Regions from separate parts of the Homo sapiens genome. Here regions 1, 2 and 3 are each linked to region 4. The links are contacts of gene promoters, found by promoter capture Hi-C in human tissues and cell types (Jung and others, 2019). All regions are on one chromosome and are shown on one strand. The core of a region is centred on a gene start or on the middle of the fragment in contact, and the rest is flanking DNA. Distances in the headings are between cores, read along the strand shown. Region 1 overlaps HDAC9 (histone deacetylase 9). Region 2 has its middle 38 kb from the start of HDAC9. Region 3 has its middle 130 kb from the start of HDAC9. Region 4 holds the start of TWIST1 (twist family bHLH transcription factor 1).

Region 1 (2,724 bases), core at 186-2,685, 510 kb after region 4:
ATCAACTAAATATGTTCTTTTGAAATTGCCAACTTTTCATAATCTAAATGATTACATCTATCAAAATGAATGCTTAAAAAGTAAATTATTATCTAGAAAAAAATATTACTTTAAAAGTGAGTCTTATTTTGAAAAGAAGCTAAAATTTTCTAATTTGATACAGGTCAAAAATTGGTTTGATTTTCATACCTTGCTAAATGGTTTAATGTTATGAAAACAGTAAGACAAAAATCGACAAAAAGTCCTTACAATTCCCAAGTCTTGCTTACAAAATGTGACTTAAAATAATTTCAACCTATTTTCTCTCTCTCAGTTTTTAGCATATGAACTTGTTAATCATGAGCAAGCTGGACACTGATGTTAATCTTTAAAATAAATATAATCATTAATTTGTAAGAATAATATTGCTCAAATATGAATTTGTCACCTCAAAAAATGAAAAAGTTGAGTTTTAAAAAGTATTTTTAATGTTTTACAGATTTAAAAGTAAGTGGTAGTCTTCTGGTTTCATTTCCACATGTGAAGAACTGGGAAATTTTCACTCCCAACCTCACCACAAGTAAAAAGCTGAACAAAGTAAAAATTAAAATTATTTTCGTAGATCTATCAGAGAATTAAGGTTGCAGGGCAAACTGCCATGCTAAAATCTGGAGAAATAGGAAAATACAGAAAATCACAGCTGAGTTCAGCTTACAGTGAGCAGAAGCCAATGGAGTCAGTAACGAAGAAATATTTAAATGAGGTAATTTTAATGAGGTGTTGGAGGCATGAATTGCTGGAGGCTGAATGTGAACCAGCTTGAGAGTTAAAAACTCCAGGGGCAGCCAGGCATGGTGGCTCACACCTGTAATCCCAGCACTTTCGGAGGCCGAGGTGGGCAGATCACAAGGTCAGGAGATGGAGACCATCCTGGCTAACACGATGAAATCCCATCTCTACTGAAAATACAAAAAATTAGCTGGGCATGGTGGAGGGCGCCTGTAGTCCCAGCTACTCGGGAGGCTGAGGCAGGAGAATAGCGTGAACCTGGGAGGCGGAGCTTGCAGTGAGCCGAGATCATGCCACTGCATTCCAGCCTGGGCGACAGAACAAGACTCTGTCTCAAAAAACAAACAAACAAACAAAACTCCAGGGGCCCAGTCTCAGAAGAATCCTACATTTTCATGGGTTTTACTTCCAGGAACCCAACCAGTTTCTCTCAGTGAATATATGAGAAAAAAATCCCTTTCTGTTTAAGTGAAGGTAGGGAGTAGGCGTGGGAGAGGGAAGAAAAGTAACCATTTTGTAATACTTGTCTAATGAAAAAGTAACAATTTTGAAATACACACGAAGGATTCTTCATAACAACAGCCTACTCTCCAAGGGAAAATATTTTACAGAGCCTTATCTGACCTAAGGGAGAAGGCAATTAGTAAATCTCAGCTTCCTATCTTACTTAAGGGGAGGAAACAGGCTAAGAAGTAGTTCAAGGGATCACAGCATACAAAGTCAGGCCCACTTAAAAAAATGAAATTTAGTTGTAAGGTTATAGAACATTTCTCCTGTCCAACGCCTTACCATCACATCAACCAGGTTCTGTATTATAACAGTGAATTAAAACTGAGGGAGCTACAGGACACAAATTCTATTTAAGAAGGAGCTCTTAGGGAAACCCCAAAGCAATAGGAGAAGGAAAAAAATCAAAGGAAACTAGAGAAAACTGAAGACTCTGACATTTACCACTACAACAGATATTAAACAAAGCCCAGCCCCAGCCAGATTAACATAAAACCTCACATCAAAAGTATAATTACTCAATTTCTATTGTCCAATATATCATGTCAAGCTTTTAACAAAAAATTATAAAGCATCCTAAAAGGCAAGAAAAACAATCAGAAGAGACAAAGCAAACATCAGACCAGACTCAGTTATGACACAAATTTTGGAATTAACAGAAAGGGAACTTAAAGGAACTAAAAGTAGTATGTTAAGGGTTCTAATGGGAAGTTGGCAACATGCAACAACAGATGGATAATATAAACAGAGAAATGGAAACTCTAGGAAAGATTGAAAAGGGAATGCTGGAGATCAAAAGCACAGCAGTAGAAATTTAAAAAAGGTCTTATCCGGGCGCGGTGGCTCACGCCTGTAATCCCAGCACTTTGGGAAGCCGAGACAGGCGGATCATGAGGTCAGGAGATCAAGACCATCCTGGCTAACATGGTGAAACCCGTCTCTACTAAAAATTAAAAAAAAAAATTAGCTGGGCGTGGTGGTGGTCCCAGCTTCTCGGGAGGCTGAGGCAGGAGAATGGCGTGAACCCAGGAGGCAGAGCTTGCAGTGAGCCAAGATCACGCCACTGCACTCCAGCCTGGGCGACAGAGCAAGACTCCGTCTCAAGAAAAAAAAAAAAGGTCCAAATGTGCTCATCAGTAGACTGGACACAGCTAAGGAAGGAATCAATAACTTTGAAGATATGTCAATAGAAACTCCCTAAAAAGAAAGGCAAAAAACAATTTTTTTAAATGGAACAGAATTCCCCAATACTCTAAGAAAATTGCAAAAGGTATAACATATTCCTAATGGGAATAGCAAAATAACAAGAAAGAGAGAAAGAATAAATATTTGACATAATAATGGCTGGGAATTATCCAAAATTAATGACAGACACCAATCCATAGATACAGGAATCTCAGAGAATATGAAACAATATAAATACCAAAAACTCAGTATCGAGACATATCA
Region 2 (3,024 bases), core at 472-2,971, 660 kb after region 4:
AGCATTTTAACCTCAGTCTGGTTTATCTGTTAAAACTTAGTAGGAAGTAACAGATATCAGGCAGTTGTGGCTAAGGAGAGGAAGGAATGCAGGGGCCTAAGATAAAAAATTATAACACGAGTAGAGAGGGGTAAAAAGACCCCAAGATATGTCTAATCGATCTGAGTTTTGCCCAGCTGGTAACCTGCTGGTAACCTGCTTCTCTGACTCATGCCAACTCCGAACAGCAACCTCTTGGTCAGTAGCCCGTGGCAAAACTGGGTCAAGCATATCTTGGCCAAGTTGTTGCTGACCGCAGCTTTGACCAATAGCCTGGAAAAGGAAGTCACCCACTCATGTTCAGCTCTACTCCCAAGAAACCAAAGAAAAAGGATAAGGTCTGGTTCTACCTGGGAAGATCCTACAGCAGCCACAGAATAGCACCCATGGTACAAGGTTCCACATGAGGTCTGTGGGGATAAGAAAGTCAGGTTGAAGAAGGAAGGACCCTCCATGGGAGTTGGAGTGACAAGCAAGAGCCACCACCTCCAGCTCTCTCTTTGTTACTACTCTGAGTAGAGGTCTACAGCTTATCATTTATTAATCGAAGTTTTGCCTAGTTAAGCCACAAAAAAAAGTTTTGATAGCAAGATATTATTTTGTGACCTTTCGCCATGATACAGAACACTGCAAAAGGAAACCAAAATTCATCAGTTAAAACACAGTAGCATTGGCTATGAACTTTTAAATAAATTCAATCTTTGTGAATTGTTATCCAGTACTTAAAAGGACAATAAATCTTACTTCCTTTGGAAACAAACTACAAGAGTATTAATAATATTAGTGGGTTACTACTGGTTTTAGCACAAACTCATCTGAATTCTATATTTATTGGTATAGCTTGGAGGTCACATAATTAGAGGGTTTTTTATGGTTTCCTAGTAACCATTTTCTATCAGAAGCATTAGCCATAGTTCACATATGCTCATCTAAGTTACCAAGCCTAAAAGAGCTCTCCTCTTGCTCATTAGATATAATGCTGCCTAGTTCAGGTTTTCATTTCAATACATTCTTTTCATCATTTTCACCTGTGAATTCTGGTCAACCATCCACGATTTAATTACCAGCACCCTGGCACTGAGAGGGTGAGCGTCTCTTTTGATAATGCAACACTTCCCTGGGGCAAAATGCCAAAGAGTTGTCAGCACAAAGGCACCTACTCTTTGATGGCAAGGCAGCAAATGTCACAATACAACAAATATGATTCAGCCTTAACGTTTTTATAAAAACCAACCCCATCTGAGGCGTGTATGGCCATACACAACCTCAGATAGTGAGAAAGAACACACGAACCAGACTCTGTAGTGTCAGTGTGTGCATTTGCATACACGTGTGTGCTTCTGGGAACACATGCAGACTCTCTTTCAATGGAAGTGATCTAACTCCCATCTGGCAGAATAAGACCCATCCAGGAACAAGGAAAAATCAATTTAGAAAGTCTTATCACCTGAAAATAGGTGATTTCAAACACCATGAAGCCAGTTTAACAATACTTTTGACTAATCAACAAAATGAAGCTCTATGTAAACTATTTTTAAAAAACTCACTAATGCCTCAACAACATCAAATTCAGTTGATATGAAAGAAAATTAATTAGAGCAGACGTTTATAACCTACAGTTTATAAAACTATTATGGCCTATATGCAGAGATCAACCAATTTGTAAATATAATGGGTCAGCTGCACAGGGGCAGACAGCAACTAATCAGAAAGAAACTCTCAATTAAAAGTTTATGAATAATTAGATTATTTTTAAAACTATATTTTGTAACTAATTTTAAAAGTTAAATTAAAATTTTGAAGGCAAATCAAATTTATAATATCTCATGAATTTTATTTCTTCACAAATATATTCACTGAAGCAATTTTATTTCTTCACAAATATATTCACTGAAGCAATTTCCCTTTCAGTTAATGACAGTTCTATTTCATATTAAATTAAAAGAGTAAGGCAGTATAAGTTGATGGGATTGTCACTGAGTGGTTCACTTGAAATACTGTAGGAAAAATGGGAGCAGAACTGCATGCACATTTTCTGGGATATGAAATGAAAAAAGCTTTATTCTCTTCTTTCTCATTAGCAAGGGTTAAGAAATGGACATGCTGAGTTAATCAAAATCTCTGAGATTCAACAAGTATCTCCAAGGAATCCTGGGAATGGAAATCTACTAGACTAAGGTCTCAGAAAAGGTAGGCACTTGAGCTCCACTGCCATCTTTCTATACCAGAAAACCTGAGTTTGAGGACAACACAATTTGTAGCAAAACTGAAGGTGGATAAAACTATGTGTGACTCCCGAGTATAGCTATATATAAAGCTGGTTCTACTTCCAGGGCCATCGTTTATGTGAGCCAATAAATACCCTGCAGCTATTTGAATTGGACATTTTTAACTTGGAACCAGAGTTCTGCATGGCACATCACTGCATATTCAATTTAGAAAATAAAAAACAATTTGAAAAATCTCTTGTGAACGAGGAACTTGCGAATCATCCCATTTAAGTAAGTACACAGTAAGGATTGTTATTCCCATTTTATAGACACAGGAAGAGAGGTGGTGTAGAGAAAATCATAACTGAAATAGAGAGGCCAAACCTTAAATTTAGTGTAATGTTATACATAATCTTATTTTCTAATATCTTCCATCAACTGTTTTTCAGGTTCATAAATCATATGAATGAAAGTGGTGAGTATATATAAGCTCAAAAACTAAAGGTGGGCTGGGCTTGGTTGCTACCACCTGTAATCCCAGCACTTTGGGAGGCCGACGTGGGTGGATACCTGAGGTCAAGAGTTCGAGATCAGCCTGGCCAGCATGGTGAAACCCCATCTCAACTAAAAATACAAAAATTAGCCAGGCATGGTGGCATGTGCCTGTGTCCCAGTAACTTGGGAGGCTGAGGCAAGAGAATCACTTGAACCCGGGAGGTGGAGTTTGCAGTGAGTGGAGATCACACTGCTGCACTCCAGCCTGGGCAACAGAGAA
Region 3 (2,724 bases), core at 146-2,645, 750 kb after region 4:
TGAACAAGCCTTGCTTACAGCAGTTCTGCAGTTATCATCACCCATGATCAGTTTCCCTCCACCTTATCTCTATATAATACATAAAGCAACGGAAATTAAGGAGATTAGGAATAAGCATTAAATTATAGCAGTGGGGAATTTTTTCAAATAAAATTTTGAAATAAATATTTTTCAAATAGCCTGCCATTTGATTTTTCAACCATAATCTATGATTCCTGGTTGCTTTGCGTGGTGACAGAAAACAATTTTTAATAGAGAAGAAATTGACAGAAAAAAAAAAACAACTGAAAACAACACTAAAGGATAAAAGTAACCAGCAGAAGAATTCATCAGGCATGATGTTACATTCATTTAATCTTCTCTTCAACTCTATTTGGAAATTACTATTAGTTATTATTACTACTAATATTAAACTCAGAAAACTGAGTTTTTCATTCTAGAAAATGCTTAACTATAATTTGCCCAAAGGCATAGCTAAAAAGTAGTAGATGTGATGTTCAAATTCCATAGTCTGTTCTATACAAGAGCCCACACTTTTTAAAACATAAAATTGTTCAAATGTAGGCTTTATTTGCTTTTTTATTAAAAAAAAAAGTCATAAAGACTATAAAAGTCAAGCCTTTCAAAAATAAGCTTATTACTGCTCGTTAGTCCCTTGTCTGTATTTTCTATTCCTAGGCTAAGGATTATTGGAGAAAGAAGACAAAATACTGCAAAAATGATTCATCACACTTTCATGTTATAGTTCTTTATTTCTACTCAATAATTTCATACAAGGCCAGGAGATCCTTTATACCAGGGATGGTGAATGTGCAGAGCATACACTACTATGTCTCCCTAATTATAATGCCAGGAACTGCTCATGACATACATAGCTCTTATCTGTTAATATTATGTTGGCCTCAGAAGCCTTCTCAACACAATATTCCATGCAGCTCCGACCTATCAGAGTTCACACTAGATCTAAAATTTATTTACAACTCTAGTTCTATCTCACTCACCAAAGTGGTTCTAACCCTATCAAAACATCAGCTACCAATAACATTCCTGCCCTACTTACTCCCAGCAAACAGCCCTGAAGACACCTAATTACATATCTTCTCTCTTATTGACCTCACTCTTTCCATCTTTGCACTAGTCTATGAAGGTGTTTTTCTGAAACTTACCAGCTGTCAATGTTTTTCAAACACTCTTTGCCCCATCTCTTAGCTATCCATGTCTTCATGTATTCATTACTTTTCAATCTTTTACCCTGTGTGACACTTCAGCTCCACCTGCACACAGACTCAACTTTTTCTTGTTCATAAAAATAAATTTCCCTTCGATTCTGCTACATTTTAAAGGTATTATCTAACGTTTTTTCACCCTGATTAATTTTTGAGCTTCCTGAAAGAATTATCAATACCTGATTTCTCTCTTTTATTTGCCACCTATTCATTCCTCCCTGTTTTCTCCACTAAAGGTCTAGCAGGAAAATTCGAAGGTTTGTTTAGTCTTAATCTCATCTGTCAACTCTGCTGCATGTTAGGTTGTAGACCAGGCCTTCTCAAGCTTTAAAATGAATCTCCTGGGGATTTTGTTAAAATGCAGATTTAGATTCCTGGGGCTTTGGGGGCCTGAGATTCTGAATTTCTGGAAAGCTTCCAGGGTGCCCATGCTGCTGGTCCAGGAGCCATTCTGAGTAGCAAAGGTATAGAAAATTCTCTATTTTCGAATGACTGTCTCTTCTTCTTTACTTTCAAAACACACCCCATGCTAATTCTCACCATTTTCTGACTGCTCTTTTTCTTCCTCCTGATTGCTTATTTTTTCCTTCCTTGTGCCTAAATGTTTATTTCTAATGTTAATACAAGTAATAGTACTATTTTGAGCATTTATCATATGCCGGTGCCGCAGACCTTATATTATCTTAATCCTCACAGGAATCCATGAGAAATTTTTCGCTTTAAAGATGGTTAAATGGAGGTACCATTACTAACACTGCACAGCCAGATTAGAACAGGGATTCAGCCCCAGGCAGTTTAACTCAAAAGCCTGGGATCTTCAGCAATCCTGCCTCACACAGATGTTCAAGAAGCCATGAGCAAGTCAGTGACGCCAACTTTGCATCCTGAAAATAAGTGGACAAAAGAAGTGATAAAGAAGGAGAAAAGGCTGCTGAAAAGAGGATTATGAACTATTGTGGGAAATTTTATAGATAGACATTGTAAAAGAGTGAATGGCTTGCTATTGAAAAATAATCTGATAAAGCCCAACCATTCAGAATGAAATTCTGGGACCTGAAAATCTTTAGGAAAAGTTAGACCCTGAAAAATATTAATGTTAAGGCATTTCACTAAGAAAAGCAAATGAATTCTGGGGCAGTCAGTATCCTTTCAATGCAAGTCATTGGACCAAATAATACAATGAGATGCCCTTTGTATAAAAAAATTGAGATTGAAGATCAACCATGAACAAAAAGAGGAGGCACCTGGTAATGTCCCCGTTTGTCTCTATTTATGTCTTCCTCACTGTTCAGCCCATTGGCTTTCTCTAATTAATCCTTATAACACTGCACTTCTGAGGGGCAAATTAGAAACAGAAAACATCTCCATTTTGTAAATAGGAAGCAGATGGAGAAACTTAGTGGTTCTTAGTGAATCAATAACAGCACTTCAAAATCAAGTCTAACTTAGATGCCACTGATTTATTTACATAGCACAGTACCAAATGCAAATAATAATA
Region 4 (2,920 bases), core at 149-2,648:
AAACTCGTCGCCCCCAAACGCTGCCCCCACCCCAACACTGTGTACTGACTCCAGCTTTTTACTTTGCCATGTAAGGGATGGACCTGAAACGGTTATTTTACCTCAATTCATTTCAAAAAGGAAACAAGTATGGCATTGCAAAAGATGGGCTTCTTATCCAAGGCGACTTCCTTTCTGGTTCACCAACTTTGCTGCTTCCAGTTTGCCAGGATCTACATTAACACCCTCTTTGGGGCTCTTCGTTTTAACTTACAGACAGAAATGCTTAAAATGTTAGCGTATCCAAGCATTTGGAATTGGGGCTCACGAAGCCTAATTGTCCACTGGATGCCCTAGATAGTGGGGGCTGGGGCGGGGGGGGTCTCAGAGCGGGCAGCCCCTATGTCTAGGCGCTATCAAATTCCCACTTCACTCTCTTACAAGCTGGCCTTTCAAGGTCACAATGCGGAGCCTAATTTGGGGGTGGGGATGAAATGGCCACAGGGTCTCTCCCTTGGGTTGGCATTGCCAGCTGTTAGGGCCGCAGCAAAGGCGCTGCGCTGCCCCCCTCTGGCTCTGCTGCCTTTCCCATGGACTGGGTTTCCTTCCACCGAAGAGTGAACTTCTGCCTCTTTCGAGCACCTTCCGAGGCGTAGTCCTTTGGATGTTGGGGAGCGTCAGACTGGGTCGTTGTAGAGGGGAAAGGAGGGCCCAGAAGGGCGAGAGAGCAGGCCGGGACGCAAATCCTCAGCCCCCGCGGCGCGGCCACGTCTTCAGAAACGCCCAGGACCTCCGGGCTGGGCCGCCGCGGTTTGGCCTTTGGAACTCCAAGGGGTTCGTCTACCTGACCATTGGGTGGGCTCCGCGGTTGACACTTTTCTTGGCATGCCCCCCCACCCCGCGCCACACCACCCCCCCAGCCCCAGCAATCCCAAATCGGCCCCACGGACCTAGAGGGCTCTTGGGCGAGATGAGACATCACCCACTGTGTAGAAGCTGTTGCCATTGCTGCTGTCACAGCCACTCCGGATGGGGCTGCCACCGCGGCCAGGACAGTCTCCTCCGACCGCTTCCTGGGCTGCGCTAGGGTTCGGGGGCGCTGCCCGCACGCTCCGGCGGGGAAGGAAATCGCCCCGCGCCCGCCGGAGGAAGGCGACGGGGAGGGAAGGGGGAGGGCGGCTAGGAGGCGGGTGGAGGGGCCGGCCGCCCGGGCCAGGTCGTTTTTGAATGGTTTGGGAGGACGAATTGTTAGACCCCGAGGAAGGGAGGTGGGACGGGGGAGGGGGACTGGAAAGCGGAAACTTTCCTATAAAACTTCGAAAAGTCCCTCCTCCTCACGTCAGGCCAATGACACTGCTGCCCCCAAACTTTCCGCCTGCACGGAGGTATAAGAGCCTCCAAGTCTGCAGCTCTCGCCCAACTCCCAGACACCTCGCGGGCTCTGCAGCACCGGCACCGTTTCCAGGAGGCCTGGCGGGGTGTGCGTCCAGCCGTTGGGCGCTTTCTTTTTGGACCTCGGGGCCATCCACACCGTCCCCTCCCCCTCCCGCCTCCCTCCCCGCCTCCCCCGCGCGCCCTCCCCGCGGAGGTCCCTCCCGTCCGTCCTCCTGCTCTCTCCTCCGCGGGCCGCATCGCCCGGGCCGGCGCCGCGCGCGGGGGAAGCTGGCGGGCTGAGGCGCCCCGCTCTTCTCCTCTGCCCCGGGCCCGCGAGGCCACGCGTCGCCGCTCGAGAGATGATGCAGGACGTGTCCAGCTCGCCAGTCTCGCCGGCCGACGACAGCCTGAGCAACAGCGAGGAAGAGCCAGACCGGCAGCAGCCGCCGAGCGGCAAGCGCGGGGGACGCAAGCGGCGCAGCAGCAGGCGCAGCGCGGGCGGCGGCGCGGGGCCCGGCGGAGCCGCGGGTGGGGGCGTCGGAGGCGGCGACGAGCCGGGCAGCCCGGCCCAGGGCAAGCGCGGCAAGAAGTCTGCGGGCTGTGGCGGCGGCGGCGGCGCGGGCGGCGGCGGCGGCAGCAGCAGCGGCGGCGGGAGTCCGCAGTCTTACGAGGAGCTGCAGACGCAGCGGGTCATGGCCAACGTGCGGGAGCGCCAGCGCACCCAGTCGCTGAACGAGGCGTTCGCCGCGCTGCGGAAGATCATCCCCACGCTGCCCTCGGACAAGCTGAGCAAGATTCAGACCCTCAAGCTGGCGGCCAGGTACATCGACTTCCTCTACCAGGTCCTCCAGAGCGACGAGCTGGACTCCAAGATGGCAAGCTGCAGCTATGTGGCTCACGAGCGGCTCAGCTACGCCTTCTCGGTCTGGAGGATGGAGGGGGCCTGGTCCATGTCCGCGTCCCACTAGCAGGCGGAGCCCCCCACCCCCTCAGCAGGGCCGGAGACCTAGGTAAGGACCGCGCCGCTGCACCCCTTCGCCTCTCAGGTGGCAGACGGCAGGCCGGCCAGGCCGCGGTTCCCAGTCCACCTCGATTTCCTCCCCTCTCCCACTCTCCGCTCAGCCTTCCCACCTCACTTGGCACCGTTGCCTCGCGCCCCCAGCGTCCCCGGAAGGCCGGTCTGACCCCGCTAGGGAGAGCAGTCTCCAGGGGGATGCGCCCTGGTGAGGGGTGTGTGTGCGCGTGAGTGTGCGTGACAGGAGGGGAGACAGAGACACCCAGGGTCACGGGTAAGGACCGTTTTGTCAGCGCCACCCTTTCTTTCGGCTTTCAATTTTTGTTCTCCTTAAAACAAATGTTTTAAAACAAATTCCACCTCCTCCTCCTTTCCACCCACCCACTTCCTCTTGCCCTTGGGCTGAAATCCTTCCAGGTTGTTCAGCTTAATTTCTCAGTGGTGGTGATAAGAACAGTGCTCACTAGTCTTAGAAAACAGCCGCAGAGACCTAAACAATAACCGACTCCCCCCCCCCCCTCTGGGTTTTTGCAGATGTCATTGTTTCCAGAG

Evidence for each region. Contacts are between HindIII fragments. The study calls those that stand out against the background at their distance.
Region 1: a contact is called between a fragment that was not itself captured here and the fragment with the promoter of TWIST1 in region 4, in 1 of the 25 tissues and cell types used here (aorta).
Region 2: a contact is called between a fragment that was not itself captured here and the fragment with the promoter of TWIST1 in region 4, in 1 of the 25 tissues and cell types used here (mesenchymal stem cells).
Region 3: a fragment that was not itself captured here is called in contact with the fragment with the promoter of TWIST1 in region 4 in 1 of the 25 tissues and cell types used here (mesendoderm cells).

Annotation. Positions count from the first base shown.
Region 1 is chr7:18,604,078-18,606,801 of GRCh38, reverse strand. The region is part of intron 6 of HDAC9 (histone deacetylase 9); the gene reads right to left. Among named protein-coding and RNA genes, the nearest start is that of HDAC9, 110 kb to the right of the region's middle. The HindIII fragment of the contact is 8,609 bases long and covers 1-2,724 here.
Region 2 is chr7:18,456,267-18,459,290 of GRCh38, reverse strand. It overlaps a transcript of HDAC9 not described here. Among named protein-coding and RNA genes, the nearest start is that of HDAC9, 38 kb to the left of the region's middle. The HindIII fragment of the contact is 4,238 bases long and covers 1-3,024 here.
Region 3 is chr7:18,363,510-18,366,233 of GRCh38, reverse strand. It overlaps a transcript of HDAC9 not described here. Among named protein-coding and RNA genes, the nearest start is that of HDAC9, 130 kb to the left of the region's middle. The HindIII fragment of the contact is 4,073 bases long and covers 1-2,724 here.
Region 4 is chr7:19,116,114-19,119,033 of GRCh38, reverse strand. It overlaps TWIST1 (twist family bHLH transcription factor 1), which reads left to right and starts at 1,398. Exons shown (of 2, transcript NM_000474.4): 1 at 1,398-2,363; 2 at 2,903-2,920. The coding sequence starts at 1,713. The coding sequence ends at 2,321. RefSeq lists enhancers at 1-251, 1,325-2,108, 2,132-2,391. The HindIII fragment of the contact is 7,370 bases long and covers 1-2,920 here.